Regions from separate parts of the Homo sapiens genome. Here region 1 is linked to region 2. Evidence: promoter capture Hi-C in 16 types of primary human blood cells and fetal thymus (Javierre and others, 2016). All regions are on one chromosome and are shown on one strand. Each heading gives the region's core, a stretch centred on a gene start or on the middle of the fragment in contact. The rest is flanking DNA. Distances are from core to core; before and after follow the strand shown.

The links. The method cuts DNA at HindIII sites, captures the fragments that hold promoters and counts their contacts. A CHiCAGO score of 5 or more calls a contact.
Region 1: a contact is called between the fragment with the promoter of ZNF283 here and the fragment with the promoter of ZNF571 in region 2, in 1 of 17 cell types (total B cells). The highest score is 10.5, in total B cells.

Annotation. Positions count from the first base shown.
Region 1 is chr19:43,825,337-43,828,645 of GRCh38, forward strand. It overlaps ZNF283 (zinc finger protein 283), which reads left to right and starts at 1,985. Exons shown (of 7, transcript NM_181845.2): 1 at 1,985-2,108; 2 at 2,866-2,945. RefSeq lists an enhancer at 1,843-2,042. The HindIII fragment of the contact is 6,325 bases long and covers 1-3,309 here.
Region 2 is chr19:37,593,250-37,596,262 of GRCh38, forward strand. ZNF571 (zinc finger protein 571) reads right to left here and starts at 1,543. Exons shown (of 4, transcript NM_016536.5): 1 at 1,492-1,543. ZNF540 (zinc finger protein 540) reads left to right here and starts at 1,627. Exons shown (of 5, transcript NM_001172225.3): 1 at 1,627-1,846. RefSeq lists enhancers at 504-1,185, 985-1,114, 1,185-1,234, 1,186-1,868, 1,465-1,664 and 2 more. The HindIII fragment of the contact is 14,201 bases long and covers 1-3,013 here.

The sequences.
Region 1 (3,309 bases), core at 735-3,234, 6.2 Mb after region 2:
TTTCCTTTTTTTTTTAAGATGGAGTTTCCCTCTTGTTGCCCAGGCTGTAGTGCAATGGCGCTATCTTGGCTTACTGCAACCTCCACCTCCCAGGTTCAGGCAATTCTCCTGCCTCAGCCTCCTGAATGGCTAGGATTATAGACACCCACCAGCGTGCCCGGCTAATTTTCGTATTTTTAGTAGAGACAGGGTTTCATCATGTTGGCCAGGCTGGTCTTGAATTCTTGACTTCAGGTGATCCAGCTGCCTCAGCCTCCCAAAGTGCTGGGATTACAGGTGTGAACCACCATGCCCGGCCTGGAGACTATTATTCTAAGTGAAGCAACTCAGGAATGGAAAATCAAACATCGTATATTCTCACTCATAAGTGGGAGCTAAGGTGTGAGGATGCAAAGGCCTAAGAATGACACAGTGGACTTTGGGGACTTGGGGGAAAGGGTGGAAAGGGGGTGAGGGATAAAAGACTAAAAATTGGGTGCCATGTACACTGTTCAGGTGATGGGTGCACCAAAATCTCACAAATCACCACTGAAGAAGTTACTCATGTAACCAAACACCACCTGTTTCCCAAAAACCTATGGAAATAAAAAATTAAAAAAAAATCAGACCCCCAAAATATTCAGAGTAGTACTTGTGGGAGTCATTGAGCAAGTAACATGGGAAGAGAGGAGGCTGCTTCCACCAGTGGTTTTGGAGGTGGAGCAGATGCTGATGATAATGAAGTCCCAGATGGGAAACGGGGATGGGTGCCGAGGAAAGCTCAAGGACCCTGCAGATGAGGACTCAGACCCACGATACTGGATGAGGCATCCATGTCACCATGGGAGTCAACCAGGGTAGTGGCCTCAGCTGAGGCAGGGGAAAAGCTGGGATCCAAGAGCTCTAGTCTTCTCTTGATAAGCAAGAGAGACCAGGAGGTGAGAGATGGCAGAGGATGAGAGAGGTGATATCAGTGACCAGAAAGAGCCCCTAAAAAGTAACTTCCTTTTCTTTCTGTTAGTTTTAATATAAAATTTCGCTTTAATATTTTTAGACAATTCTTTTTTAAAAAAGTATTTATATCCAAAGGTTCTTACCACACCAACCACAGCCCCAATCTTTTTGCCCTAACCTCAGAATCAGTTAGTTGTCTCCTTTAAAACCTTTCTCTCTCTCACACACCCACACACACACACACGCAAACACACAGGAGAGAGAGAGAGGGAATATATAGTATTGTTTTTGGAGTATGAGTGTGTGCTTCAGAATAAATGGTTTCATACTCTATAAAAAATGAGATTCAAATTTTATAATCCATCAAGTTTTATTGGAACACAGCCATGCTGGATTGCTTGTGCATTGTTTATGGCCGCCTTTGCACTGCCATAAGTCTCCACGGTCACAATATCCACTCACTACCACTTATTGTTGTCTTTCAACAGCGGCATATAAAATCTGTAACACAGTTCATCTCACACCTAATAAAACAGACTCACACAGGCATAAATTTAGAAAACATCCCATGAACATAAACAGGTCCACGCAGGGTCCCAGACACCGAATCGAACTAAGAAACTCCCTCACAGCAAGACACACCCATCTGTTCAATTGCCAGACACTGTTCCAGGCGCTCATACCCAGGTAAACTGGTAGTGTCGCGCAGGTCATTTCCAGCGAACTTACCCCGGATTCCCTTGCTCGCTCACGTCTAAGTCCCCAGACACCCCAGTCCCATCTTCGCCTGTTCTAGACTCCAGAATGCGTTCCTTAGCGAAAGCTGAGAACCTTTTAATTCGCTCTCAGTCAACACCAAAGACCCTCAAGCAAAAGCAAGAGCTCCCGGGCGTCTTCGAAAAAAGCGCCTTTGACAGGTGAAGCCAAGTTGCATGCTGGGAGCATCCCTGCTGTCCAGGTTTCAACTTCCGGAGACTCTGCCGCTGTGGACTACATTTCCCAGAAGTCTCCGGGGCACAGGCCTTTTAGGGGCGGGGCGAGCTTGCCTGCCAGAAGCTCCTCTCCCAGCCTGCGAGCATTTCCAGGCTCTTGTTTCCCATCAGCCTCTGGGTCCAAACTAACCACAGGTCTCTGGGTCCTTTTCCGGTGTCCTTAAGGTTCTTGGACTCTGCATGGTGAGTTGGTCGTGTCTGTAGAAGTAATCAGCCCGGGTGAAGCTGGGAGGGCTCGGCTGGCTTTACTGGGGCCCGACTGGAACCGGCAGTGAGGGTGGGGGTGGCATCGGGGGTGCTGGAGGTGGGGAGGGCTGGGTCACGGACAGAGCGTGTCGTGTCCGGATCCTCAAGCCTGTGTGCACGCGAGCAGCCGAGGGACAGTGTGTCTCAGACGGCGTGGCAGGGACGGGGCGTGTCCCCACGGAGGTGGGTGCAGTTGTGAATGTGTGACGGGCTGACAGGGTGCGTGGCCGTATTTGTAAATGTGATTTGCTTTGACCAAATGCTCTAGGTTCCCTTTAGCCTGTCTTCGGGCCTGCCACAATTAAATGACCGCAAGAAAGAAGTCTATGCTAAGCCCCATAATGAACGTTTCAAGCAAGAAGGATGAGAATTTTAGATCTGGAAGTGTCCGCGGGACAGGATCTTGTCAAGACCTGATGGGGAAGTTCTAGAGGTGGGATTCCTAGAAGAGGGGCCTCTAGGAGCTCTTTGGTGGTGAGCTACATGTTTCAGAGCCATTGCAAGCAGACCTCTGTCCCCAAGAATTGCCCTCAACACAGAGACAGACTCTAGCCTCCCTTTTCATTCCGTTTGGTTTTGTGTGGATGAAGGCAGAAGTGGCCCCAGAGGGTGTTTTGCTCTTCTTTTTCTTTTTTAATTAAGTCTGTGACGCGCTAGAAATGCTGATGTCTCATGTTACTGTTTTTTCCCCCAGTGCTGCCAGGTTGCCAGATTTCTAAGAAGGAGTTTGAAGAGGAGAAAAGGATTTTTGCATGTTTAGAAATCAAGGTTCAGGTGAGGTTTTTTATACATACTTTTTAAATACATACACATACAATTACCTTTGCTTCTAGGTCATGAGAACATTTTCTTTCCTTGGCCTGAAATATCTTGACTGGGTTTTCCCAGTTACATGACCCGCCATGCTGGTACATATTTCCTCCCAGTGGCCCCCTATTGTTCTTCTCCACAATTCTTACCCACCTGTTCATATGGCAAATTGTTCAAATACTTCAGTGCATTATGATGCACTGAAGAGTTATAGAAAGGCACCTCTTGTAGATTGCTATTAGAGCATTATTTTATACTATGATTATTTGAAGAGATTAGTAATTAGGTGGTGTTATATAAACATTATTTTTTATCTTTTCTGTAGTCA
Region 2 (3,013 bases), core at 293-2,792:
GATTGATACAAAGGTATTTACAAATGTTTTTAATTACAGCTAGGTGTTGAACATGTTGGGGTTCGTATTATTCTTTAGCCTGCTTGAAAACATCCACAATAAAGTTAAAATTTTAAAACTCTTCAAATTTCCCCCAGAAAGTACAGTTATTTTTCATCAAAACCTTAGACCAGGCCAGGCGCGGTGGCTCACGCCTGTAATCCCAGCACTCTGGGAGGCCCAGGCGGGTGGATCACGAGGTCAGGAGATCGAGACCATCCTGGCTAACACGGTGAAACCTCGTCTCTACTAAAAACACAAAAAATTAGCCGGGCATGGTGGCGGGCGCCTGTAGTCCCAGCTACTCGGGAGGCTTAGGCAGGAGAATGGCGTGAACCCGGAAGGCGGAGCTTGCAGTGAGCCGAGACCGCACCACCGCACTCCAGCCAGGGCGACACAGCGAGAATCCGTCTCAAAAAGCAAACAAACAAACAAAAAAATCTTAGACCAGAAAGGACTGCTGTATCATTGGGTGGAAAGGAGAGGTGTAGTGTGGCTGGGGAGTAGAGCTAAACTGATGATCCCATCCCCGCAGCATCATTTATGGGGTGCCTAAGGACCAGTCACTAGCATGGCTGGTTCTTCCTTAGGAAGATGTTGCTGGAGGTAGAAAACGTTTCGGAAAGGAAGAAATTTGAGGTTAGAAAGAAAACAGGAACTTCACACAAGACTTTCAGAAGTGCGATATTCTTTTCCTCTGGGTGCCTCTCTTGGAAAACGCAGAACCGAGAAAAGAAATAAGCATCATAGAACATCAGAGCTCTCGGAGCAGACGAAACAATTTAGGATAACACCAACCTCTAGAAAGGGATTAGTCTTCCCCACAGGGCTGTCAAGCTAGAATAGGACATCTTTAACAGTGGTCTTCTTCCTAAGACACTTCCAGGGGTAAAGCCTCACCATCAGGGAAACTTCAAAAAGAGCCTCTTACTCTGCAAAGAAACTGCAGCAGCTGTAACCGCACGATTCTCAGCTGGCTTAATGATGTCCGTGTCACACGAGGAGTACTGCGGCCCGGGAGGGGCCAAGCGCTAGGAGCATTAACAGGCGGCAGGTGAGCCCACCCCGCGGCCGCACAAGCGCACACGCACACGTCCAGGGCGGAGGAACACTACTAGTAACACCCGCCTCCTTCTAGCCTCCCTATCCCAAAGTTATGGTGCCGATTTTGTCCGCGGCAGGGGCTCCAGGGGCACACTCATAAATTCGGTGCGGAGGAACACAACTAGCAGCACCACACCCCCGCCACTGCCAGAACCAAAGTGACGGTGCCGACACCCCTCCGCAAGCGCAAGGCCGACTTCCATAAGTAATTAGCCAGAGCACCGTCCCGTTCCTGTCAGCACCGAGCCCCAGCCAGGACACCGGTATTCCCAGCACCATACAAGAACTACTTTTTCGATGAAGCAACCCAAAAGCTGCGAGCGGTTCCCGGTGAGGCCGCCCACTCACCTGGCCGGCGCAGACAAGCTCCGTGCGTCAAGACATAACAGCGTAAGTGTACGACGTTGCGCAGCGACGCGGGGGCCTTCGGGAAATGTAGTCTACAACTGGAAACCGGCCGGATCGTGTCTGCGCAGGCCCAGCAGCTAAGATCGGGTCCGGCGCTCCAGAACAGAACGATCCCTGAGGCTCCCTTGCTCGAACTGTGGGACTTACCCTACTATGGTCCGAGCCTACCCTATTTCATTATACTCAAGTAACGCCCCAGAAATTCCAGAGAATCTCACACAAAGAGGTTGAGTCTTGCCGTGGTGCCTTCAGGGGAATGTCATCCCGGGCTAGAAGAGCTGCAAAAGGCTGTCAGGTAAGGTCTGGATTTCTCTCTGACAGCTCTGGCCGTGACGCAGTGGCCACGATACCGGGTTGCTGCTCAACGGGGTTCGGAAGTGTGACGCATTCTTTGCGGCCATGTGTGTGTGTGTGCGTGTGTGTGTGGGTCTGTGCGCGCGCGTGTCCGAGTGTCCTCTGTGGGTGCAGAGTGGGTAGTGGCCATGCCTGTGTGATGTGCGTCAGATTATGCTTGAGGCTATTAGTGGCGCATTTAGTATTGTGTGCGGAAGGGTCTTGGGAATGGTTTGATTATAGCTTTGAGGGTGACTGATGTCTGTTTAATCAGATTCAGCCTGCGACTGAGTATCTTATAACCTGTAAGAAATTGATTTTTCTTTGCATGGTCATGAATTTAAAATAGATTCCCATGAAATTATATAAATGTAGTGAATGATTCATTGAGAGTTCGCCTGTGGCAGTGAATGTGGGGAAAGAAGTGTGTGAGCATAATATGGTGAGAATGAGCACGATTGTGTGCAGCGCTGTATTATAGTGATATCTCCTGGCTTCAGTTTTCTCACCTGTAAAGTGAGGGTGTCAGTCGTGTAACGCTTTGGAACAATGCTTTTTAATAGGAATTTCTGCAAAACTGAGTTCCATTTTTTATATCTGTGCTCTCCAATATAGTAGCCACTAGCTACATATGGCTATTGAGAAATTGAAATGTGGCTGGTTTGACTGAGGAACGAATTTTTTAAATTGTGTTCAATTTTAATAAATCTAAATGTAAACAGCTATATATGGCTAATAGTCTTCCTATTGAACAGTACAACCTGGAGCATTAATTTGCCTTCAAGATTTGAAGGGGGTAAAAACTTAATTCATCTAGCAAATATTTGAAAATGAAATTCTTAAAACTTCCTTAAATTTTTTTTTAAATTTGAGATGATTGTAGATTCATATGAGGTTGTAAGAAATAATAGAGACATTGTGTGTTATCTTCAACTTAGTCTTCTCCAATGACAACATCTTGCAGGACTGTAGTATAATATGACAACCAGGATGTTGACATTGATAGTCAAGATAGATCATTTCCATCACCTCGAGGATCTGTTGTGTTGCCCTTTTATAGACAAATGCACTTTCTTCCCTCTTGTTTGAAGATATTCGCGTCAACATTAATGATAATGTAGGCATACCT